Regions from separate parts of the Homo sapiens genome. Here all the other regions are linked to region 1. Evidence: promoter capture Hi-C in 16 types of primary human blood cells and fetal thymus (Javierre and others, 2016). All regions are on one chromosome and are shown on one strand. Each heading gives the region's core, a stretch centred on a gene start or on the middle of the fragment in contact. The rest is flanking DNA. Distances are from core to core; before and after follow the strand shown.

What was found. The method cuts DNA at HindIII sites, captures the fragments that hold promoters and counts their contacts. A CHiCAGO score of 5 or more calls a contact.
Region 2: a contact is called between a fragment that was not itself captured here and the fragment with the promoter of SLC35G1 in region 1, in 1 of 17 cell types (endothelial precursors). The highest score is 6.6, in endothelial precursors.
Region 3: a contact is called between a fragment that was not itself captured here and the fragment with the promoter of SLC35G1 in region 1, in 2 of 17 cell types (endothelial precursors and megakaryocytes). The highest score is 5.1, in endothelial precursors.
Region 4: the fragment with the promoter of CEP55 here is called in contact with the fragment with the promoter of SLC35G1 in region 1 in 1 of 17 cell types (fetal thymus); the score reaches 5.6 in fetal thymus.
Region 5: a contact is called between a fragment that was not itself captured here and the fragment with the promoter of SLC35G1 in region 1, in 1 of 17 cell types (endothelial precursors). The highest score is 5.0, in endothelial precursors.
Region 6: a fragment that was not itself captured here is called in contact with the fragment with the promoter of SLC35G1 in region 1 in 3 of 17 cell types (fetal thymus, non-activated CD4 T cells and activated CD4 T cells); the score reaches 7.9 in fetal thymus.

Annotation. Positions count from the first base shown.
Region 1 is chr10:93,892,675-93,896,463 of GRCh38, forward strand. SLC35G1 (solute carrier family 35 member G1) reads left to right here and starts at 1,304. Exons shown (of 3, transcript NM_001134658.3): 1 at 1,304-1,537. The coding sequence starts at 1,360. RefSeq lists silencers at 1,278-1,707, 3,193-3,242. The HindIII fragment of the contact is 3,349 bases long and covers 1-3,040 here.
Region 2 is chr10:94,306,116-94,310,150 of GRCh38, forward strand. It overlaps PLCE1 (phospholipase C epsilon 1), which reads left to right. Exons shown (of 33, transcript NM_016341.4): 26 at 312-573; 27 at 2,466-2,584. Among named protein-coding and RNA genes, the nearest start is that of PLCE1-AS1, 21 kb to the left of the region's middle. The HindIII fragment of the contact is 1,878 bases long and covers 560-2,437 here.
Region 3 is chr10:94,323,674-94,327,929 of GRCh38, forward strand. It overlaps PLCE1 (phospholipase C epsilon 1), which reads left to right. Exons shown (of 33, transcript NM_016341.4): 31 at 676-894; 32 at 1,219-1,431. The coding sequence ends at 1,407. It also overlaps a transcript of NOC3L not described here. Among named protein-coding and RNA genes, the nearest start is that of NOC3L, 37 kb to the right of the region's middle. The HindIII fragment of the contact is 4,129 bases long and covers 426-4,256 here.
Region 4 is chr10:93,495,089-93,499,330 of GRCh38, forward strand. It overlaps CEP55 (centrosomal protein 55), which reads left to right and starts at 1,524. Exons shown (of 9, transcript NM_018131.5): 1 at 1,524-1,835. RefSeq lists a silencer at 1,343-1,852. The HindIII fragment of the contact is 5,966 bases long and covers 1,269-4,242 here.
Region 5 is chr10:94,341,299-94,345,636 of GRCh38, forward strand. NOC3L (NOC3 like DNA replication regulator) reads right to left here. Exons shown (of 21, transcript NM_022451.11): 12 at 3,555-3,635; 13 at 3,117-3,217; 14 at 375-447. Among named protein-coding and RNA genes, the nearest start is that of NOC3L, 19 kb to the right of the region's middle. The HindIII fragment of the contact is 3,075 bases long and covers 510-3,584 here.
Region 6 is chr10:94,364,897-94,368,791 of GRCh38, forward strand. No RefSeq gene overlaps it. Among named protein-coding and RNA genes, the nearest start is that of NOC3L, 3.9 kb to the left of the region's middle. The HindIII fragment of the contact is 513 bases long and covers 1,258-1,770 here.

The sequences.
Region 1 (3,789 bases), core at 54-2,553:
AGAATTCAGGTGACCATTTGTCTCAGTTTGCCTAGGACAGTCCCAGTTTATGCCTATTCCCTTGTGTAACTTTTAAAAGAGCTCCTCCTTTTACTCTTAAAAAAAAAAAGGTCCAGTTTGGAGGATAAATTATATGCTGACCCTAGTTTAAAACACACTTTGATTTTCTAACATAGTGTTTTCCAGGTGATATTATGCTTTTGCCCACATCATTGCATTTTATTTACATAACTACTCTGCGAAGCAGGAAGGGAAATACTTGATCGCTATTAAATAAAGGAGGTAATCAAGGCTTCGAGGGGTACAGTGGTGACTGAGGTCACACACTCAGGGCCAGAACCTAGGATTCCTGACTTCAAGTCTAAAACTGTTTCAGCTGTGGATCACTATGTGCAAATGTCTGAGTAAAGGCAAACTTCACTCTCCTTTGGTGATCTGCTTGGCACTGGACTTAGAAGTTTAGATACGTTCATCCTTGCACAGAGACTGTTCTTCCACATATAAAGCAAGCAAAGAGATGGAAGAAGAATTATTAGCTAAACAAAAAGAGGCTGTTAGTGAATCCTGGGCCAAAGAATATATTTTACCAGGTCTAATTACATCAGATTACTTGAATCTTACATCTGGCCAAATTAGGATATTTCCATTTAAGAAAAGAAAACCAAAGATCAATAATGCATGCCTACTCTTGCAAAGAATGCAAAGAACATATAAATGGGTTCTGGTCAGTCTTATAGATATATTTTCCTATAATTACACACTAATTCTTTCTTAAAAATATTTCCCAAAACAGCAAAATTCTACCCTCCTTGGTAAGCAGCAAAGGGACAACACGGGAAACAAAACAAAACAAAACAAAACAAAACAAAACATAAAAACCCTAGACCATTTAAAGACAAGCATGGTGCTTTGTAAAATCTTCGGGGTATCACAGAGGTGCTGAATGCGTGGTTACATCAATGAAAAAACGCCCACTCTTTGAGCCTCCTGAAAAGGAGGCCACAGGACCCCCGGGCGCCAGGGCTTGGGAACCCAGCGCCCCTCCTTGTCTGTGCCATGACAGACAGGTTCAGTGTGACTTGCCAAGGATGGCTCCAAGCAGCTGGGCCATGTAGCCTGAACGCAGCAGAGGGTTGGACGCCTTAGAGCCAGCTGTGGGCACCACAGCCCGACCAGGGAGGCAGCGGGTCTCCCCAGGTTAAGAGGCCAGCGGAGGACGCGCGCGGTCTCCTTGGGGGAGGGTGCGGGTGGGCCGGGCGCGCATGCGCATGGGCGCCATCGCCCGCCGGAAGAGCGGCAGCCCAGGCGCTGCTGCTGGCGCCAGACGGCACCGGCCGCTGGTAGAGCGCGTGCCGCGAGATGCGGCCTCAGGACAGCACCGGGGTCGCGGAGCTCCAGGAGCCCGGGCTGCCGCTAACGGACGATGCACCCCCGGGCGCCACTGAGGAGCCGGCGGCCGCCGAGGCAGCTGGGGCGCCAGACCGCGGTAGGTGCTGGCTCTGCCTTTCCTCGCCGTGTTGCTCCCGCACCGAGCCGGGTGAGTGCGCGGTGTGGATCGGGCTCTGGTCTCGCTCGGGGGTCCCGAGCGGGCGCCGGCGGGTTGGGGTCCCCGCAACCCGGGCACAGTGCCCGCCGCGCCTCCGTCCCCACCCTGCCCGGGGCTCGGGAAACCCCTCGAGCTGTCAGCTGGGGGGCTGCAAAGCGGAATTCCCGGCGCCCCAGCCGGCGCTAAGACGGAAGAAACTTTCCGATTGTTAGCAGTCCTTTTGGGATTCCGAGGCTGCTCCTGTAATTAGTGTCGGGGCAGGGCTGTGGAGTCAGACTGCAGTTTGGCGTACCCTCCCCTAGGTCGTAGGTGGGGGGTCAGCGAGAGAGGCCATCCTGCAGTGGGGCGACGTTGCGAGGAAGCTGACCCTGAAAAGTGATCCCGGTGGTTAAGGGTTCTCTCCGAAAAGGAAGCTGAAAAGCATCGAGTCTAGAAAAAATGTTCGTCCTAGAGTTTTAGAATCTTGGAAAGGCAGAGATAAGTGGGACCGCTAGTTTTTAACCTTTAGGGATACAAGGACTTTTTAGCAAACGATGCAGAACAAGGCATATCTTGTTAAGAAGCTCACAGCCCCGTCCCCAAAGTCAGGGACCCCTCGTGAAGAACACTTTATGTTCAGTCCCCCTCCTTCGACACATGAGCAAAGTGAGGCCCAGGAAGGTGAGGGCTTTTGGGTTTTCGTTTGCTTTGTCTCCTCCAAGATGTGGAACGTGGGGGTGAGATGGGGCGCATGTCCAGGGAGCACCAGGGTTAGGATCCCAGCTTGCCATATACCGGCCTAGGGCCCTTTCCACTGGCCACAAGTGCTGCTTCAAGCACATTCCTCTTAGAAGTCGACCATCTACCAGGAGCAGCTTCCTGCAAGAAGAAGGGAATAGGCAGATCTCTTTTTAGGACAGTTACACGGCCTGCACCACCTTGTCCTCTGGGTCACCTCCCCTAAGTGTGACCCTGGATTTCTGTTCCTCTCCTCTCACTGCGCTTTCCCCTCCTCCCTTTGTGCACTTTCCCCAAGTTAGAGAGACAGACTCTAGGAAGACTATTCTTGCTCCATTTCTGTCCTAAAGGCAAACCGAAATGATCAGACTTGTGATCATTTATAAATGGGCTGGTGCCTCTAGAACAGGGGTTATGCCAGGCTGAATTGAACAGATAAGCAGCCTTTGAAAAGGTCAGTTTCTCACCTATCACCCTCTGGGTGAATGTCCTTCTGGTGGCATGCCGAATCAGTCCATGCAAACTCTTAAAGTTTCCCCTTTTTGTGAATGGAAGAGGAATTCTCTACTCCCAGGCAGCTCATGGCAAGATGAGAAACTTACGTGAGTGTATCTAAGAATCTTGTGGGTGTTTAACTTCAAAGAAAGTTTCTACCAGTAAGACTTAGTTATTGTAAGGTGACAAGATAATATTTTGGAAAGAAAATTGACATAAAAACACTTTACTGTTGTCATTGAACTTTGTGACACCTCTTGTTCTAACTGCTTATCTCAACAAAGCTTTTTTCAAGTTCTGGTTGGAACTGTTACCCATATGTCTTACATTCTTGGATGACCTTAACAGACACATACAGCTGTCCCAAGACATCTCCTTACTTTCTTCAGGGACAGTGTGGGTCTTACACTGAAGCAAGGAGAAGTAGTTTCTTAGGCCTGTGCCTCACATCCTCTGGAGGGAGTTAGTGATCGAGTGTAGCAGTGGTTCTCAAACTAGTGGAGCCTTTTAGAGTTACAGAGATTCTATTTCGGTGGGTCTGAGATGGGGCTTGAGAATTAATTTTTTTTTTTTTTGGAGATAGGGTCTTACTCTGTCACCAAGGCTGTGGTGCATTGGCGTGATCACAGCTCACGGCGACCTCAACCTCCTGGGCTTACTCGATCCTTTCATCTAAGTCTCCTGAGTAGCTGGGACCACAGGCACACACCACCACACCCGACTAATTTAAAAATATTTTTTGCATTGATGAGGGGGTTTCCCCGTGTTGCCCAGGGTGGTCTCAAACTTTTGAGCTCAAGAGATCCTCCCACCTTGTCCTCCCAAGGTGCTGGGATTACAGGCATGAGCCACTGCACCCAGGAATTAAAGTTTTAAGTGTTACTCAGGTGATTCTAATTCCCAACCAGGATTGCGAATCACCAGCTGAAAGCAGAGGATAGAGAAGCTGAGTAATTTTTCAGTTTTCTTCTAAGTGAGGAAATTACACCATGGCCACTTACCTAATTTGAATAATTTGAGTTACCAAATTA
Region 2 (4,035 bases), core at 249-2,748, 410 kb after region 1:
CGCACACCACCATGCCCAGCTAATTTTTTGTATTTTAGTAGAGACAGGGTTTCACCATGTTGGCCAGGATGGTCTCAATCTCCTGACCTCGTGATCTGCTCACCTCAGCCTCCCAAAGTGCTGGGATTACAGGCATAAGCCACCGCGCCCAGCCCTACAATCACTTACTTTTTAAACAGTTTTATTCATCATTCACTTTGTCCATTCCAGTGTTCTTGGGATTCCTTTGCAGAGGGAAGCAGTGAGGTGCAGAGGTTGTCTTTCTTTTTTATCCTCGGTGACTTTGATCCCTTTTGTCTCCCTCACCCTAGATTGTCTCTGGTCAGAATGTGTGCCCCAGTAATAGCATGGGAAGCCCGTGCATTGAAGTCGACGTCCTGGGCATGCCTCTGGACAGCTGCCATTTCCGCACAAAGCCCATCCATCGAAACACCCTGAACCCCATGTGGAACGAGCAGTTTCTGTTCCACGTTCACTTCGAAGATCTTGTATTTCTTCGTTTTGCAGTTGTGGAAAACAATAGTTCAGCGGTAACTGCTCAGAGAATCATTCCACTGAAAGCTTTAAAACGAGGTAGAATAAAATTGTCCAAATGTTAATAATTGTTGTAGCTAGGTGATGGATGCCAGAATTTCCTTATACTCTTCTCTCTTTTCTGTTTGACATTTTCCTATAAAGAAGTTGAATTAAGAAGCAAAAGGAAATACAAATTGGAGCACTTTTGAAGCACATCTCAAAAGAAGTTTTTCTTTTACATTTTTTAAGAATCTGAGGTATTAACAATATCCCTTGTAAAGTACAGCCTCACCCATGCTTGCTGATGTCAGGAGCAGTGGTTGTTGCTACCCACGGCACTGCTGGCAGTTTGAAAGCAGGGATTGAAATAAGGAGAGGAAACATGTCAGAGGGGTCGGGTGTGGTGGTGGCATAAGTGACCGTGCAGTTGGAGTCGGTGCCTGGCAGAAGTCCAGTTTTGGAAGCTGGGGCTGGGTTTCAGGTGCAGGAAGAGGGGAATGGAGAATTCTGGGCAAAGGCTAGAGCTATTTGCTTGTAGATTGGCTTTGTTGTGGCACTCTGATGAATTTCAGCCTGTGCATTGTTTTTAAACTTTGATGTGCACAGGAATCTGCTAGGACTGGTAATACCATGCAGATCGTGATTCAGTGGCCTCAGGTGAAGACTGACAGTTTCCCTTTCTAACATATTTCCAGGTGTGCTGGCTCTGATGGTCTCCTTTGAGCACCAATATTCTAAGTACACACTTCCTCTCCCAGCTACACTCAAGCTGCCATCCTTGGAGCTCACAAACACATTACAGTTTCCTACTTTTGTGATCTTTTCCTGTTTCTCTTCTGTGTGCAAGTAGCCCGTGGTCATTTAATTAGTCTGCTCAGGCTGCCATCATGGAATACCACAGACTAGGTGGCTGAACCACAGAAATGTATTTCCTCGCAGTTCTGAAGGCTGGAAGTCTGAGATCAGGGTGTTGGCAGGTTTGGTTTCTTCTAGGGCCTCTCTCCTTGGCTTGCAGATGGTCCCCACACAGTCAGCCCTCTATGTTGTCTGTGTCCTAATCCCCTCTTCTCATAAGGACACCAGTCCCACTGGATTAAGGCCCACCCTAAGGACCCCATTTTAACTTAGTTACCTCTTTAAAGACCCTCTCTTCAAATATAGTCACATTCTGAGGTACTGAGGGTTAGGACTTCTACACAAGAATGGGGAGTATAGGGTCGGGGGAGACCCATAACTGTTATTATAGAAATGTGAGAAAGTACATAGAAACAAAAACAATTTTTTTTTAATTATCCATTTTTCCATCTCTCCAACACAGTCACTCTTGGTGTATAAGTCTTGCAGGCTTTGTTTCTCTCCCCATGTACGTAACACATGAGCATACAGATATATTTTTAACAAACAGGCTTTCTACTAATCTTTGTGTTTTGTAACTTACTGGTTTTCACTTACTAATGTATACAGTGAGCAACCTTTCATGTTAATAACTATACATGTACATTACCATTTTTACCAGCTGTGTATTATTCCATTCTATACTTACACTTACAGTCATACCATAAATTATAACCAATCTTCCATTGTGGGAATGTTCTATTATCACTAAAGCTGCTCTAAGATGGAACATTTGTAAAACAGGGACTGTTAGTCTGTTAGTGCTTCATTCACAGGGACTGTTAGTGATCAGGTTTTCCTACTAGATCAGGTTTTGTCTGAGTTTAAGGTTTTCTGTTTGAGTCTAAGTTGGAAACAGTACTTGGACAAATTAATTGCCATTGGGTAACTCAGGGGGCAGCACTCTCTTGGCGAAAAGACGCCTGTTGGTTGCATGCCTGTTGCCATCCCTGCCCATTTTAAGGTCTTTCTACCTGTCATTTGCCGACTTCCAGGAGCATCTTCTTTTCAGTAGCCATGGTTAACAAGCTTTTCCCAATTCTGTATTACTCCAGGATATCGACATCTTCAGCTGCGAAACCTTCACAATGAAGTCTTGGAGATTTCTAGTTTATTCATTAACAGCAGAAGGATGGAAGAAAATTCCTCTGGCAATACCATGTCAGCCTCTTCGGTAATGAAGTTCTGTTTCACTCAACATATTTATGGGGATTGCTACACTGAAGGTGGGCTTTTTTGTGGCCCAGCAAAGTGGTCGGTGTGAGTTATTAATTAGGTAGCTATGGAAATTAATAACAATAATGGCTGACACTTGGCACTGACTAAGCACTTTACGTATATACTAACTCAGTCCTCTCAATAACGTCAGGCAGTAGCTATTTAGTATCATCTCCATTTTGCAGATGAGAAAGGTAGAGCTAAGTACATCTGAGGTCACACAGCTAGCAAGCAGCAGTCCAGGATTTACACCCAAGTTCCAGTAACAAAGCCCATATATTACAGTGTCTATCAGGGAAGTAAGCCAAATATAACAAAGTGAGGAAGAGGCTTATTATGCGAAGCCTAGTAGGAAGCATTTCCAATACTTCTAGAAACTTTAGGTTAAACCAGGAAAATATTTTGTTTCTTCAGCAGTCCAGGGGCAAATGTCACAGGCAGAGCAAGGCTGGAGTGAGCAATAGGCTCTGCTGGCGATGCATAACTTGCACCTCAGTGCTTGGCAGATGCAGAAGCTGCTCCCTTGAGAATGGAAGAAGGACACTGTAGAAAGTGCCATAGTTGCAGAATCTGCTTTTTTTTTTTTCCAGAGACAGTGTGTCTCTGTCACCCAGTGTCACTCTGTCACCCAGGTTGGAGTGCAGTGGTGCCATCCTGGCTCACTGCAGCCTCGACCTTCCTGGCTCAAGCAATTCTCCCACCTCAGCCTCCTGAGTAGATGGGACTACAGGTGTGTGCCACTATGCCCAGATAATGTTTTTCTATAGAGATGGGGTCTCACTATATTGCCCAGGTTGGTTTTAAACTCCTGGACTCAAGCGATCCTCATGCCTTGGCCTCCCAAGGTGGCCTCCCAAGGTGCTGGGATTACAGGCATGAGCTACCGCACCTGGCCAGAATCTGCTTTTTAACAAGTGCCTCATGGAAACTCAGTGCCCACTAAAGTTTGAGGACACTTGGACCATGGCCCCCTCACTAATGCAGGATGGTTTAATTAGGTAAGAATCTGGGCTGAGTGCAGCGGCTCATGCCTCTAATCCCAACACTTTGGGAGGCCAAGGCAGAAGGATAGCTTGAGTCCAGGAGTTCAAGATCAGCTTGGGCAAGACCCCATCTCTATTAAAAAACGTGTTTTAATTGAGCATAGTGTCGAGCACCTATAGTCCCAGCTACCTGGGAGGCTGAGGCAGAAGGACTGCTTGAGTCCAGGAGTTTGAGGCTACAGTGAGCTATGATCACACCACTGCACTCCAGCATGGACAAAGAATGAGATCCTGTCTCTAAAAAAGGTATTTTTAAAACAACTACTTTAATTAACTGGCTAATTCCATTATGCTTCCTCTTTAAACATACATTTTAAAAGTGTATCCATTGGTTACCCCCTTTACATGTTTAATAATGTGATTA
Region 3 (4,256 bases), core at 1,240-3,739, 430 kb after region 1:
GTTCTTACTGTATGATAACTTAGTTAATATTAGCCATCTTATTCAACTGACTTTGAATTCCAAAGGGCCCAGACTTACATTTCTTTAACTTATCTTTGTCTCCCCTAAAAGTACAGCACAGTATCTGGGACATAATTGGCCCTCACTAAACATTTAATGAATTAACAAATGCATCAATGAAAGACATTCTTATATTAAATGAAAAGAGAGATCAGTTGACTTCTAAAATTCTTTCAACATCCAAGACTCTGTGATAGAGATAGCCCAGTGGGACAGAGACGCTCCTGAAGAGCAAGATTCTATTCCTCACTGGCTGACTTTCATGTCTGTGAGCGCTGGTACATGCAGAAAATCTGGTTCAGACCTTTATTGTTACTATTATAGCTGTATATATCCTGGAATCTACTTAACCTGTCTTAAGTATAAGCTTCCTCGTCTGAAATTCAGGATAATAACACCTAATTCATAGACTGTTGCAAAGCTAAATGAGGTAACGTGGGAAATTACATTACAAGCTACAACTATACAACTGCAAAATGAGTTGGATGAAATGATCTGGAAGATCCCCTTCATCTCTAGTCTGGGCCATTTTTCCACCTTAAAGTTTCATATAGAATGAATGCAAATGTTGGAGATTCTGTGTCTTTATTCAGTTGATCATAACTTACCTTTCAGACCTTATGCAAAGCCAAATATTCCTACAGCATCCTGAGCAACCCCAATCCAAGCGACTATGTGCTTTTGGAAGAGGTGGTGAAAGACACTACCAACAAGAAGACTACCACACCAAAGTCCTCTCAGCGGGTCCTTCTGGATCAGGAGTGTGTGTTTCAAGCCCAAAGCAAGTGGAAAGGTGCAGGAAAATTCATCCTTAAGCTAAAGGAGCAGGTGCAGGTAAAGTTTAAAGTTATTTTGCTCTGTTCTTAAGTTATCTGATACCCATAATTACACTGTAGCCAGATCTGGAAGCTGGTGAAATTTAGGAGAAAGTTCCTGAGTCAAGGAATGGAGTTAGGAGAAAATTGTTTGGCTTTGTTTTCACTGTGTGAAAAAACATGTGGCCGAGCTTGCGGTTAAGCAGTCCTAGAGGGGAGCTCCTCAGCCCTACTCTCTCCAAAGCTCTAGAGAGAAGAGGAAAGCGCTCTTCTGAAATAGTGTCATGTGACAGAGGAACCTGAGTTTAACCTAACACCAATGGAAGGTTCTTTGTTCCCACAGGCATCTCGAGAAGATAAAAAGAAAGGCATTTCTTTCGCAAGTGAACTCAAGAAGCTCACCAAGTCAACTAAACAGCCCCGAGGACTTACATCACCTTCTCAGCTCTTGACCTCAGAAAGTATCCAAACCAAGGAGGAGAAACCTGTGGGTGGCTTGTCCTCCAGTGACACAATGGATTACCGACAGTGACTAAGGGCAGCATGTTTAACCCAGGTATAGTAAGTCATTGCACCATCCTGGAACAGGGCTTAACTTAAACTACTTTGTAAGGAAGGCATAATTAGTACAATGTCTTTTATCTTTTCCAACAGGAGGATGTCCCTTGAAGGCAGGTAGGAATGGGACCTTAAAACAGGAAAAGGGCTCTGAAGATATGTGTAACATGATATGCTATTGAACACCGCCTATAAAGAAAAAGGGAAAGAGGCTGGGCGTGGTGGCGCATGCCTGTAATCCCAGCACTTTGGGAGGCCAAGGCAGGCAGATCACCTGAGGTCAGTTCAAGACCAGCCTGACCAACATGGAGAAACCCCGTCTCTACTAAAAATACAAAATTAGCTGGGCATGGTGGTGCATGCCTATAATCCCAGCTACTGGGGAGGCTGAGGCAGGAGAATCACTTGAACTTGGAAGGCAGAGGTTGCAGTGAGCTGAGATCACACCATTGCACTCCAGCCTGGGCAATGAGAGTGAAAACTCCGTCTCAAAAAAAAAAAAAGAAAAAAAAAAATATATATATGTAACTTGAGCTTTTGTAATTTTAGACCCCTTATTTATTTTGTAGATAAATAAGCAAAGCTCCCAAGAAGTCAATCAACTTGCCCAAAGTACTCTGATAGCCTTATTTCATCAGACAACTGTCTTCAGTATTAATAGCTGACAGAAACATTCTTCAAGGGCTCTATGGATCATTCAGCTTTTATTCTTTTGGATTTCTCGTTTTATTACTGTTCTAATTTAGGTTTGATGTAGCTTCAACAACCTCATCTCCTTCTGCCTCAATTAAAAAAATAAAAATCTGGCATCCGGGATGTGGTTAAAAAGAAAGCAAAATAACATAACAGCCTCAATCTTGGAAATGCAGTAAACTGACTGCTTGATAGTCACACAAATTTCATTCTATCTTAAAGCAAATTATTTACATGAGACCTGAATAAAAGCATGTGAGGGAACCAGTGGTAAGTCTCTCCTTTTCGCTTAGTTTCCTAATGAACCTAAGGGTTCATTAAAGCCCACTTTTCACCTGTTCCATGGTAGTTCACAGATTTAAAATTCCCAAGATGAACAGCACAGTGAAAGCATTGCTGTTTATGTGACAGAGCTTCACCATCTGCCTTTATGACAATGAGGAACTTCTGATATAAAACTGCCAAACTGCAGAAACTCACAATTAAAGAACTCAGTGATGCCTCTTCCCAGAGCCAAATTTTACTTAAAACAGCCCAAAAGAAGGCCCAATACATTGAGATCATGTTTCCACATTTAAAGAGCAACTCCTAAAATAACTGATGTCCTATATTACACTCTGCAGTGGTCAAAATTTTAAATATTGTTTTCCATATCCAGAAGTTAGTATCAAATAAATCATAGGTGTGATGTTATACACACCTCTATAACTTCTGTAATGAGGTGAAATTACACTAAAGCTAGTAAATTGGTCATATACTTCTCTACATATAAAGAGCCCGATATGTGCTACAAGATTACTTCTTAAGTACAGAAGAATACAACTCCATTAGAAATTTGACTTAAAAATAATATGCCTACTATAATGAACATTGCTAATTGCTTATATTTTAGGAGACTGGGGGAGGGTGATTGATAGTGATTTAGATGATTGCCTTTAGATTCTATTGTCCTGTAGCAAGTAGATATTTATTTTTTCTGACCAATGGATTCACATGACTTTTTTTTTCTTTTTCTAAGCAAGCAGATATTTAGAATCATTCTGTTAACTTCACAGCTTTGCTTAAAGCTGGGGAGGCCTGGCCAGGCACAGTGGCTCACGCCTGTAATCCCAGCACTTTGGGAGGCCAAGGCGGGCAGATCACGAGGTCAAGAGATTGAGACCATCCTGGCCAACATGGTGAAACCCCGTCTCTACTAAAAATACAACAACAGTTAGCTGGGCGTGGTGGTGTGCGCAGGTAGTCCCAGCTACTCGGGAGGCTGAGGCAGGAGAATCGCTTGAACCCGGGAGACGGAGGTTGCAGTGAGCCGAGATTGCGCCACTGCACTCCAGCCTAGCGACAGAGCGAGACTCCGTCTCAAAACAAAAGCTAGGGAGGCTTCTCTTATAGTCATTGGTGCATCTATGTGAATTGACATCCCATGTTATGACCTCCTTTACAATGGTCTTTTCAAGAAAGAGCACTTGTAAAAGAAAAGAAGAGCTCATAAGAAAAGAAGTTTAGAGTTTAGGACCAGGCACAGTGGCTCATGCCTGTAATCCCAGCACTGTGGGAGGCCGAGGTGTGTGGATCACTTGAGGTCAGGAGTTCGAGACCAGCCTGGCCAACATGGTGAAACCCCATCTCTACCAAAAAATATAAAAATTCCTGTAGTCCCAGCTACTCAGGAGGCTGAGGCAGGAGAATTGCTTGAACTTTGGAGGCAGCAGTCCAGCCAGACAAGAGGGAGAGAGAGCAAAAAGAAAGTTAGTTTAGTATTGTTTCCACTTTTTAGGTAACATATTTCATATTTGTTCTAAAATGATCCCTTTTAAAGTTTCAATAATCTACAGATTTTTAAAGAACATATTCATCTATCTGAAGTAGTAGTTAGCTGAAGGAATTCCACCTTTTCTTAAAGTTGAACAGTTTATTTGATGTGATCTTTTTTAAAAAAACAAACTTTCTAAAGAATGTGAAATATTTATTTCCAAGGCAGAAATAACCTAATGTTCTACTTCCTAGAAACATCATGTTCTAACATTGTGAGTACAGAGGAAACAGTCTCTTCCCCAAACCTAGCCACTAGAGCTGTGGCTGGAAAACTCTGAACCCTTGGTATACCGCAAGTGTTTCTGTTTCTTCATT
Region 4 (4,242 bases), core at 274-2,773, 400 kb before region 1:
ATTCCCCACATGGTTTTCTCATCCATTCTATTCAGTAACATTTGAGTGTTGCCTTTTGTTTAACAATGGCTAACATCAATTGAACATTTACTAAATGTTAAGCACTTTACATGAATTTCTTTCATGTAAAAAAATTTTAAAGTTTTAAAATTAGAGACAGGGATTGGGTGGGGTGAGAGTGGATCTCTCTGTGTTGCCCAGGCTGGTCTCCAACTCCTGACCTCAAGCAATCCTCGCTCCCCGTCCTCACGTAGTGGTGGGATTACAGGAATTAGCCATTCCACCTGGCCGGATTTCCTCATTTAATCCTTATAACCGAGCTGTGAAGTAAATATTATTATTTGCATCATTTTACACATCGGGAAACCGAGGCTCAAATAGGTTAAATAAATTTATCCAAGGAGACACATCTAGTCAGGGCAGTAAGGAATTAAATCTAGAAAGTCCTAATCTAGAGTTTATAACCTTTGTACAATATTGTGTACCTAGGATGTTTTGCTACTGTGTATCTACTGTTTTAAATCTCCAGCGAGTTTATGCTGGGTCTAGGAGAGAAAGGGAGGCCCTGCTAAACATTTCATGTGCTTCTTCTCTCAGCAGTAACGTTCTCAAAGCGGCTAATCAAGAGCTAGAATCGATCAATAGATAGATATCAGGCTGGAGGGTAGCAGTCTGGTCTGAAAGCCGGTCCGCTAGCATTCATAATCTCAGCGTTCAACCTGGGCGTGCCTCTCATCTCTCCCGTTAACACTCCCTGCTGTGCTGCTGATTTTTGGCAGTAATCCCAGCACTTTAGGAGGCCGAGGTGGAAGGATCACTTGAAGGCAGGAGTTCGTGATCAGAGTGGGAAACAAAGTGAGACCACCCCCCCCCCCCCCCACTCCGCTGTCTGTATAAAATTTTTTAATAAAAAATTAGCCGGGCGTGGTGGCGTGCGCCTGTAGTCTCAGCTACTCGGCAGGCTGAGGCAAGACGATCGCTTGAACCCGGGAGACTGAGGTTGCAGTGAGCTATGATTGCACCACTCCACTCCAGCCTGGGCGACAGAGTGAGACCCGAGGGGATGACAAGGGGGCTGTGCTCCTTTGTGAAATCCCGTTGTCCCAGGGCAGGAGGGGCCGCACTTCACACAGGGAGAATCTATGCTCAAGAGCGCAGAACTAGTTCGTCTCGGTCCATCGTCACTGGTTTTATCCCATTAAAAATAGTAATTTGCTTTCTCCTAAAAGCGTATAAACACAAAACCAGCCCCTGACTGCGAGACACCAAGCTTGTTTAGGTCTAAGCCCGCAGAGAACCCCCGATCCCAGAATTAGCTGGCGGGCCCGGGAGGAAGTGTTCCCGCCCTCTGTCCCGCCCCGCGGCCCCAGCCACTTCTCGGCCCGCCCTCAGGTTTACTCTCCGCCCTTCAAAGGCGGCAGCCAATCGGGGAGCCGCGTCCCCGCCGCGCGCGCGCTGCTCCTCCTTCTTGCGGGCCGCGCCCTGCCGGCAGTGACGTGCCCCGCCCTGCAGCCGCGGGATTCAAACTCCCGGAAGCGGCATCCACACCTGATGGTGTGACTCGGCCGACGCGAGCGCCGCGCTTCGCTTCAGCTGCTAGCTGGCCCAAGGGAGGCGACCGCGGAGGGTGGCGAGGGGCGGCCAGGACCCGCAGCCCCGGGGCCGGGCCGGTCCGGACCGCCAGGGAGGGCAGGTCAGTGGGCAGATCGCGTCCGCGGGATTCAATCTCTGCCCGCTCTGATAACAGTCCTTTTCCCTGGCGCTCACTTCGTGCCTGGCACCCGGCTGGGCGCCTCAAGACCGTTGTCTCTTCGATCGCTTCTTTGGACTTGGCGGTGGGTATCATCTCCTTACAGATAGGCGCAGAGAGGCCAAGTGACTTGCCCAAGGTCTTTTGTTAGGACGGCTTTTTCCGATTGGCAGGCACTTTCGTTGTGTGTTCCTCAAACATCTTTATTTTAGAAGTGAGAAAACTTGTGCCTTTTTTTGCAGTTTCTCTTTTCCTGTCTGTCTCCTCAAGTGAGATTTTATGTGGGAATTTTTAAAGATTGGCGTCGCCTTGTAGAAGATGCGGCTTGTAATTGAGGCCTTGTACCATTTACTGGATGGAAGCGCTTGTTTGGTCACCTGTCCAGCATGACTTAGGTCACTTCAGCTAATCAACCAATCATTTCTTTTCTTTTTTCTTTTTTTTTGAGATGGAGTCTCGCTCTGTCACCAAGGCTGGAGTGCAATGGCACGATCTTGGCTCACTGCAACCTCTGCCTCCTGGGTTCAAGCGATTCTCCTTCCTCAGCCTCCTGAATAGCTGGGACTACAGGCGTGCGCCACCACGCCCGGTTAATTTTTGTATTTTTAGTAGAGACAGGGTTTCGCCATGTTGGGCAGGCTGGTCTCGAACTCCTGACCTCAGATGATCCACCTGCCTCGGCCTTCCAGAGTGCTGGGATTACAGGCGTGAGCCACCGCGCCCGGCCCCAATCAACCAATCATATCTGAGGGCTTGCTGTTAGGCTCTGTGGGTAACAACAACAACAACAAAAATCAAAGTGCAGTCCTTGAAAAAATAGTTGAACAATTGAAAAAATAAAAGGTTAGCAGGAAGTGTAATTGGGTACTAGATTGTGTAGGGGTGGGGGTGGGGCAGCTATATCGTTTGTTAAGAGTTCACAGAGGGAAGGCATGCTGAGGAAGGTTTGAACTGGGGGAACCCTGTGGATGACTGGAATAGGAAATACAGGGAAAGGTGGCCGGGCGCGGTGGTTCACGCCTGTAATCCCAGCACTTTGGGAGGCCGAGGCGGGCAGATCACTTGAGGTCAGGAGTTCGAGACTAGCCTGACCAATATGGTGAAACCTCATCTCTACTAATAGATAAAAAAAAATTAGCCAGGCGTGGTGACGCGCACCTGTAGTCCCAGCTACTCAGGAGGCTGAGGCAGGAGAATCCCTTGAACCCGGGAGGCGGAGGTTGCAGTGATCTGAGATAGTGCCACTGCACTCCAGCCTGGGCGACAGAGCGAGACTCTGCCGCCCCTAACGCCCCGCCCCCGCCAAAAAAAAAAAGAAAGAAACAGAAACAGAAAAAAGAAAATACAGGGAAAGGAGGTTGGTGGGACTAGGTGGTGGGGGAGATCCAAACCGTCTGGGCCAGAGGCTAGAAACTAGTAGTCATTCATTCACTGCCAGAGTTTCTGTGCAAAGGTTAGGAAGCAGATGTTTGGGGGTTCTTTCACGTTCTGCAGATCTATATTTCCATCATTTTGTGTCTCAATGACTTGGTAGTAGTTTTCTGTCCTACGACCCACGATATCAAGTCAACAGTGTGTTATCAACAGAAACACATAGGAAAGAACTTCCTGTGGCAGCAGGTGACTGAGAGACGCCATAACCTTGCATTTCTTTAACTGATGGATGAGCTACTGCAATCTTTCACCTTATAATGGCAAAAATCCAGGACTAACCTTTTGATAGATGATTTCTTCTACTCAATCTCCACAGTTCTAATATGTTTAGACGTTCTGATTTCACACAGGACAATCTTAAAAGTCACTTCACTACCATTCTAAGGAGGTCTCTCCTGTTTTTACTGATATCATTTATCCCTGTACTTCTCTTGTGTAATATTTATTACAGTTTGAGGATTCATGAACCCTTGTTTGTTTCCTTGTTATTGCCTGCCTTTACTACACTGAAAGCCCCATAACATTAGGGAACATGTCTTTTTTTTTTTTTTAAACCAGTTTACACCCAGCATGTATTAGGATACCTGGTAAATAGTAGGCTTTATAGTAATTTTTGAATGCACTAATGGGCTCATACTCCTTTATATCCTTTAATCACACTGCCATTATTTTATCTTGGGATACATGAAGTAGAAAAATGTTTTTTAACCTCCTTAATTAGAGTTACTTTTATATACTATTTATATGCATCGTATGCTTCACTAGATTTTTGCCTGCTAAAGTTTATATTATATACTTGTTTCTAAACTGTCATCCAGTACTGTTAGCAGATACTGAGTTTCTCCTTACTTAATTTGGCCCCTTATTCTTAATTCCTTTCATGCCTGACTCCCCTGAATGTTATACCTCTTTTCCAGTAAATGTCTTATTTTAGGTTCTCTTCACTTTTTCCCACTGTGCTCTCTCAAATGATTATTAAGATGGATCTGAACTAGGCTACCTTCTAAAACAGAGGACCTATGTTAAGTAATGACATTTCGTGCCTATATACTCAGAAT
Region 5 (4,338 bases), core at 797-3,296, 450 kb after region 1:
AATGGTTGTCACATAAAGACACATATTTAAGGTGACTGATATCCCAAGTAAAATATTTACAAACTATATTATATGAATATATTTAATTATCACATATACCCTGAAACCATGTACATCTATTATGCATCAATTTAAAAAAAAAAAAAAGAAAACAGGTCAGACAACCCTCCTGCTTAAAACTCTCCAATGGTTGAAAACGTTCTACATCTTGACTGTGGTGGTAATCATATGATCATAGGCCTTTGTCAAAATTCATAAACTGTACATCTAAAAGGGGTTTTACTGTATACAAAATATATCTCAATAAACCTGAAAAATTTTTAAAATAGTAATTACCATTTATATCTTTTAAAAAATAATTTATTATTACTTACACCAGACTCAATGAGAGTATGAAGAACTACTAACAGATCATCAAAAAATTCCACATTTATAAGGTGAGCAAACCTGGAATCAAACAAAACAGTTAATCAGTGAACTAAAAGCAGAAATAAAGCTGGTAGAAATTAAGCTTGACTTTAAAACTGTATTTTTAATATTCTTTATTTCGAAATGTTAGCTATGAAAGACATGGCAATTATTGATACTTTTCATTAATTCAGATTGGCCTCTTCAACAATTCATACACCATTGAACACTAAACTCAGTAGAAATATATAAGGCACTGAACAAACCAAAAATATTTCAAAAATCCTTCTGCACTGAGAAAGAAATTACTAGAAGCAAACAACTTCCTGAGGAAAGTTTAGGAGGTATCCGGCAGGATCGGCTTCTAAGAAAACAGGTGGTGGGAAGAGAGACAAGGAAAGATTCTGCTACTTACAAGAATATGGACCTTATGACAGCTTTAAGGATAAAATGGAAAGAATACTGGACCCCAGTATCTAGTTCAGGCTCTGCTCTTAATTACCTGCGTGATCCTAGGTAACTCACTTCACTGTCCTGGGCCTCTATTTGTAGAAATAACTGAGACCACCCAATAGGGTTAAAGAAGAATCATATGAGCTGCTAAATTTGAGAGTTACTCCATATACTATAGTAGACACTGAAGTAGGTTAAAGTCAGGACATCTCTTCAATATTAGCAAGAAGTCTTTGATCTATGTAAATCTTAGAAGAATAAAAGACCTTATGAGTGACATATTCCATGCATATCGGTACAACTTTTTGGAGAAGCAATCTGACAATTATTTATCAAAATTTAAAATGAGCATACCCTTTGATCTGGCACTACATGCACACACATGCATGAAGATACACACACACACACACACACACACACACACACGTGCGCAAGTATTCCCAGTGCAAATAGGCGACTGACCAAATAAAGTACAATATATCTATAAAATGGAGCACTATAAATTTTTTAAAAATTAAGTGATATATATGTGATAAGGGAGAGGTACCAAAAGTAACTGTTTACAAAACCAAAAAAAAAAAAAAAAGCAAGTTACAGGACACTAAACATAGCATGATTCCATTTGCATGAAAGATGGCAGGCAGGCCCGGTGCGATGGCTCATGCCTGTAATCCCAGCACTTTGGGAGGCCGAGGCGGATGGATCACCTAAGGTCAGGAGTTCGAGACCAGCCTGGCCAACATGAGGAAACCCCATCTTTACTAAAAATACAGAAATTAGCCAGGTGTGATGGCACATGCCTGTAGTCTCAGCTACTCGAGAGGCTGAGGCAGGTGACTGCTTGAACCTGGGATGTGGAGGTTGTAGTCAGCTCAGATTACGTCACTGCAACCCAGCCTGAGCAACAGAGCAAGACAGTGTCTCCAAAAAAAAAAAAAAAGGTGGCAGATGGCACGCAGACAGACTACATACATATATAGGAGGGGGAGCTTGCAATTTTAAATTGTATATTCTTTTGCATTATTTAAATTTTTTAAATGACCATATATTATTTTTTAAACTTTTTTAAATAAAGGAATTAGTTATTAAAAAACAAATAGCTGGGTCGAGCATGGTGGCTCACGCCTGTAATCCTAGCACTTTGTGAGGCCAAGGCTGGAGGATGACTCACTCAGGAGTTCAAGATCAGCCTGGGCAATATGGTGAGAGCTTGTCTCTATTTAAAAACAAAAATAAAAACAGCAAGTCCTACACAATGTAGGAATAATCCCTTCTCTGACCAGCCTCTCTGAAGATTTTTAACCACAAGGACCGTATCACCATATAAGGAAATGCATACCATTGCCAAATAGCTCCAGTTATTAGAAAGTAATTTCTTATGATAAACAGAACTTGCCTTTTCTATATCTTCTAGCCATCAGTCCTATTTCCAACTCTATTCCTAAAGTTGTACTGCCCAACAATGGTAGCCACTAGCCACATGTGGCTGTTAGGCACTTAAAATGTAGCTAGTCCAAATTAAGACACAAGCGTAAAATATAAGTGTTCGAAAATATGTTATGAAAAAACACCAAACAACTCATTAATGTTTAATATTGTGTTAAAATACTTCAGATAAATCAAATCCAGTAAAATATATAAAAATTAATTTCACCTGTTTCTTTTTATCTTTTTAATGTGGCTAATAGAAAATTTTAAATTATATATGTAAGTTCACATTATATTTTTACCGAATAGCAATGTTCTATAGGATACCACCTCAAAAAATTGTGGAACGCTATCATGACAACCACAACCCTTACTCTAGCTCACATCCTGACAAGGCCATTAGTGTTGAGTGAATACACCAAAAGATCTATCTTAGCAGAAACACATTACACAGAACTAGAGAAATGATGTACAGCCGGGTTAAAATAGACTTAAGAGTCATCTGCATGATCCACTCAAACTATGACGATGGGCAATTGACTACACAGTGCAGAAAGAGTCAAGAACTGAGAGATTTAACCTTAGGAACACCTAGAATTTAGTAGGCAGAAAGAAGGAGTTGGTAAAGGAGATTTTAAAAATAAAAGGTTTGAGATGAGAAAATCAAAAAAGCCCACTGTTATGAATAGCTTCAAGTAAAGGCTGGTGACAATCAGAAAAGGAATGAGAACTGAGGATAATGGGCCATCATTAGGGAACTCTCGAAAATTCTTTGGTCTTTCCTATTTAGAAGGAATCTAAAAGATTTCAACCTACACAGCCCTTACTTGGCAAGACCTTCTAGAACTGCTGGCAGGAGAGGTGACCTCTGGGCCTTCTTCAATATTCTGAAGTAGGTTACAAACACAATATTCAGAGTCTCTGTGTGCTGGCAGAGGAGACAGACAAAATGACTTTAGGATAACCTGGTATGCTTTCTCCTGAGTGAGCATAAGTATCACTTCAACAGGTTAACTTTTTTCCCTACCCATCCCTCCCCACAATGCAATCTTTGAAATTTTTAACAAAACAGAATGAAGATATACACCCTGTGACTGCATAAAACTAGCACTGATCACATCACAGTTTCCCGCACATCACAAAAGTCACACATCTAAGCCTCATGAAAGAAACCAAAATTACACAGCTACAAGCTGAAACAATAAATTTCTAGTTTAAACAACTTAACGCATTTTAAAAGCATAACAGAATATGAAACTGCCTACCAGTTTAAGTTTTTTCTCAGTACTCTCTGAAGCTTCTGCCTCTCGAAGCTCTCGCTCTAGTTTCTCTTCTGCTTTCTTCCACTGAAAATAGATTGAAAAACAAAAATCTAAGAGCATATACCACAGAGTGAAAAAAGCAGAGGCAGAATACGTAAATGTCATAAAACACATACAGTAATACCACATGTTGTCTATGAATGCAAATATAAACAAAGTAGAGAAACATGGACGGGAAGTATATACAAACCAAATTAAAGATGGTGTCTCCTGGGAAGAAGGTAGAAGAATGAGATTGGAGAGAGAAAAGAAATTCCTACTCTCTCACCTATGGTTTCTTTCTTTTCCAGGAAAAAAACTAAAGTAAATCTATTAATATTTGCTCATTCTGAATAGCAGATATCTGGGATATGCTATCATTTTCTATTATTAAAGTTTTTCAAAAAAGAAAAAAAAAAGGAAAGAACATGTTGAGCCCAAAAATAATGGCTAGGATTAAATCATCTATAACTTGGAAGCCAGTCACCAACAATACTTCCCCAACACATTTACATACAATGCATAAAACTGGGCCCTATAAAGAAATTCAATAAAATATCCTTTTTTTTCTACTACCTAATGCTGTAAGAGCAGTAAATGATAATTTCTAAGCTGCCTGAGGCACAGGGAACTGAAAAATTGTTTCCTTCTCTCATGAGAAGTTGTTAAAGAGCTGCCATGTTCTTATTGGTCTTTGTTTCCTCACCTCATCTATACACATGCTCTTCCTAACAGAGCTATCCAACCT
Region 6 (3,895 bases), core at 264-2,763, 470 kb after region 1:
CCATTTTTAAGATTTGTTCTAATAAACTTATCTCCCTTTAATTGCTCTTTTATGTGCCTCTTTTCCTACTTGTCCCTACTTCCAGAAAAAAGTATTCTTTTAGCGTCTCCACTTTCTCTTCTCTATTGTCATAGCCCAATCCTGTGCTAGTATTTTCTTTTTTAATATAAAGATTGCCTTTTTTTATTTTTTTTCTCTGTTGCCCAGGCTGGAGTGCAGTGGCAGCTCTCAGCTCACTGCAGCCTCAACCTCCCAGGCTCAAGGGATCCTCCACCTCAGCTTCCTGGGTAGCTGAAACTACAGGCACGCACCACCATGCCCGGCTAATTTATATTATTTGCAGAGATTTGGTCTTGCTATACTGCCTAGGCTGGTCTCAAACTCCTGGGCTCAAGCAGTCCTCCCACCTCAACCTCCCAAAGTGCTGGGATTACAGGCATGAGCCACCATGCCCAGCATGTGCTAGCTTTTTTAAGAACTGTGTCATACTCTTGGCCCATTTTAAGTTTACAATCAACTAAAATCTCTGGATCATTTTAAAGCAATTGTTGCCAAGCTAAATCTCTCCCATCTTGAATTCGAGCAGCCTGTTGTTCGAAAATACTCAAAAATGGAAGTTTATATGATTCCTTTTAATTCCATTTAATCTTGCTGGTTTCTTAATTCTGTGTGTCCACCTTTGTGTCATCTCTTCTTCACTCAATCCACTGCCAAGCCCCATTTGGACTCCAGATCCTCTTAGATCCCTTAGAGCTTTCCTGGACACTTGAGCTGATAAGGGTCACTGGGCTTTCCCAAACTAGTATCACAGGGATTGTACCTGGAGATTCCTGTTAGCACTTTCAGGAAGTCTGTTAAGAACTTACGTGGCTTTGCCCATAACATTCCGCTGAAACTGATCTAATTAAGGTCACCAAGAACCTCCAAAGTGTTGTGAGTTTTTTCTAATTGTGTACGGAATTACATTACTTCTTTCTCATTTAACCTCACTAGATCTCTCTGCTGCCTTTGATGCTACGCGTATCTCCCTTCACACATTAGAATGTTGATTCCCTTGGCTTTCCTAATAGCCTGTTCCCCAGGTTCTCCTCCTACCTCCATTTCTTCCTCCTTAGGCTTCTTCAATGTAGGTGACTCTCAGGGTTCTACTCTTGGCCCACTTGTCTACCACTCTTCTTGCTCTACTTGCTTTTCCAGCGTGATTTCATCCATCTACCTATTACAAAGAGATTTTGTCCAGCCTATACTTCTTCCCCAAGCTTCATTCTTATAGCCATCTGCCTCCTGGACAGCTCTACCTCCTAACCATGGGACTTCACATTACCATGTTCAAAAGAACTATTTTTTTTCACTTGTACCTCTTGTAACATTCCCTATTTCTTTCTTTTACCCACAGCTAGAATCCCAAATACTCCAGAGATCTTTGTCAACAAGCAAGGGCTTTCTTGGCCATTTACCGTATTATAATTAATCCATTTTCTATAAACAAACAGTTTTGAAAACTGTCACTAAGTGGACATGGAATAATAAACAAGGCTTCTTTTTTTCCAGTACCACAAGATAATTTACATAAGTTATAATAAGGGACTATATGAATGTTTGTCACTTTGTAGTAAGTGTTTGGCGATAGAAAAAGCCCACACTTCAGTATCACAAATTAGAAAATAAACATCGTAATTGGATGTTATCACTGTCAATCATCTTAGACATAAAAGAGGCAGGCAGGTTGCCCTACAGCTCACCCAAAGGGGACCTGTGGAAATTAGAAAAAGCTTCCATGTCCTTAAGACACTTCACTGTCATAGATCAAAAAAAAAAAGTTTGCTATCTTTACAAATAAACTGTGAATGACGCCCCTGGAATTGTACAATATACAGTCCTCCCTTATGTCGAAGTGCTTGGCTCTGCCTAGGCCTCTTTCTGTTTCCCTTCCTAAAATTCAGGGGAAACAAAAACAAAACTAAACTAAAGTAAAATAAAATCCAGGGGAGGGAAGGAGTCTAGAATCTCTGTTCAGACCTTTGAGATAGTGCTACAGCCAAGGGGAAAAAAAAACAACTCACTATCAGAGAGCTAAAAAAACATAACTGTAATATTTAAGTAATATTTAGATATTACTGTCCAGGCATTGTGGCTCCTGCCTGTAATCCCAGCACTTTGGGAGGCTGAGGCAGGAGGATTATTTGAGGCCACGTGTTCAAGGCTACAGTGAGCTATGAGGGTGCCACTGCACTCCAGCCTGGGCGACAGAGTGAGGCTATCGCAAAAAAAAAAAAAAAGAAAGGATTTGAAAATACGTATATCATGGTCTCTACCTTTGAAAATGTTAAAATATTGTTGAGAAATTGTGTGTGTGTGTGTGTGTGTGTTTGTGTGTAGTTGAGAATGATAATTATGAATTACCAAATAGAGAATAATAGAAAAGATCACATAGGTGCTAAAAAATAAAGACAAGCTGCTTTAGAGGAAGTCATAGAGCAATGTATACCTAAATGAGAACAGGAGAAAGGACAAAGTTTAAATAGATGGTATAATTTGTTCTAAGCAAGGTCACTCAGGTAGTACAAATAATTTATATTGTGGTGCATCAGAAAATTAGGTTAAGATAGCTAATAATTATAATTAATTATTAAATTAAAAGTATTAACCAAAAACCAAAATAATAGCAAACATTAGAATAATGATGTAGCAGATTTTTTGTCCTGCTGAACCCACAGCTTGAATCACCCCAAAAGCAGTGGTAGGCCAGGAATTAGTGGCTTCAGTGAGTTATGATCTCACCACTGCACTCCAGCCTGGGCAACAGAGCAAGACTCCATCTCAAAAACAAACAAAAGCAGCGACAGGGAAGTTCCCACAACGGTGTGTCCCAAACTGTCTTGAGAAAAGGCCCCCAGTTGGGATGCCATAGAAAGAAGCATTTTTTTTTTTTTTTTTTTTTGAGACAGAGTTCACTCTTGTGGCCCAGGCTGGAGCGCAATGGCACGATCTCAGCTCACCTCAACCTCCGCCTCCCGGGTTCAAGTGCTTCTCCTGCCTCAGCCTCCTGAGTAGCTGGGATTACAGGCATGTGCCAACATGCCCGGCTAATTTTGTATTTTTAGTAGAGACAAGGTTTCTCCATGTTGGTCAGGCTGGTCTCGAACTCCCAACCTCAGGTGATCCGCCCGCCTCGGCCTCCCAAAGTGCTGGGATTACAGGCGTAAGCCACTGTGCCTGGCCGAAAGAAGCATTAAATGCCGGGGTGATCAACCCAAAACAATTGTTAGGAGAACTTACCTACAGAGTGCTGTGGCAATCCTCATGATGGACAGTGAGAGAAAAGGGGTGTGGACCTAGGTATGTCCACAGTGAGGGGGTCAGGGTACGGAGTTTATATGAGGGTTTAAGGTATGTGACTCAGGGCCTGAGCCAGTACTTTCAGTGTTTTGGGCAACAACTTAGATACTTTTACCAGTGCCTGGGACTGTTCAAAGCCCCAGTTTGTGTTGAAGCCTGCTGGGATGAACCTGCAGATGGCTAGGTCACAGAGCAGTCAAGGCACTCTAATTTTTTATTCAGGACACAGAAAGAAAGCCGCAAGGGGCTGTGCGGGAGGTCTCCTGGGGGCCCTACACAAATGTTGTTGGTGTCTCGTCTACATATCCTCAGTACTTCGTGTTCCATACATGCTGAAAAAGTCCTCTGAGCACTTGCAAATTTTCACTTAAGGACTTTTTCTGGACCCCTGTAGGGCAGGTCTGAAGTGCCACAGATTTTTCCACTGGAAGCATCCTCAATCAACAACAAATGGTAATTGAAGGATAACTATAGCAATTGTGGTAGGCTGAAACATGACTTCCAAATATATGAAGGCTAAGTCCCTGGAAACATGAATATTAACTTATACAGGCAA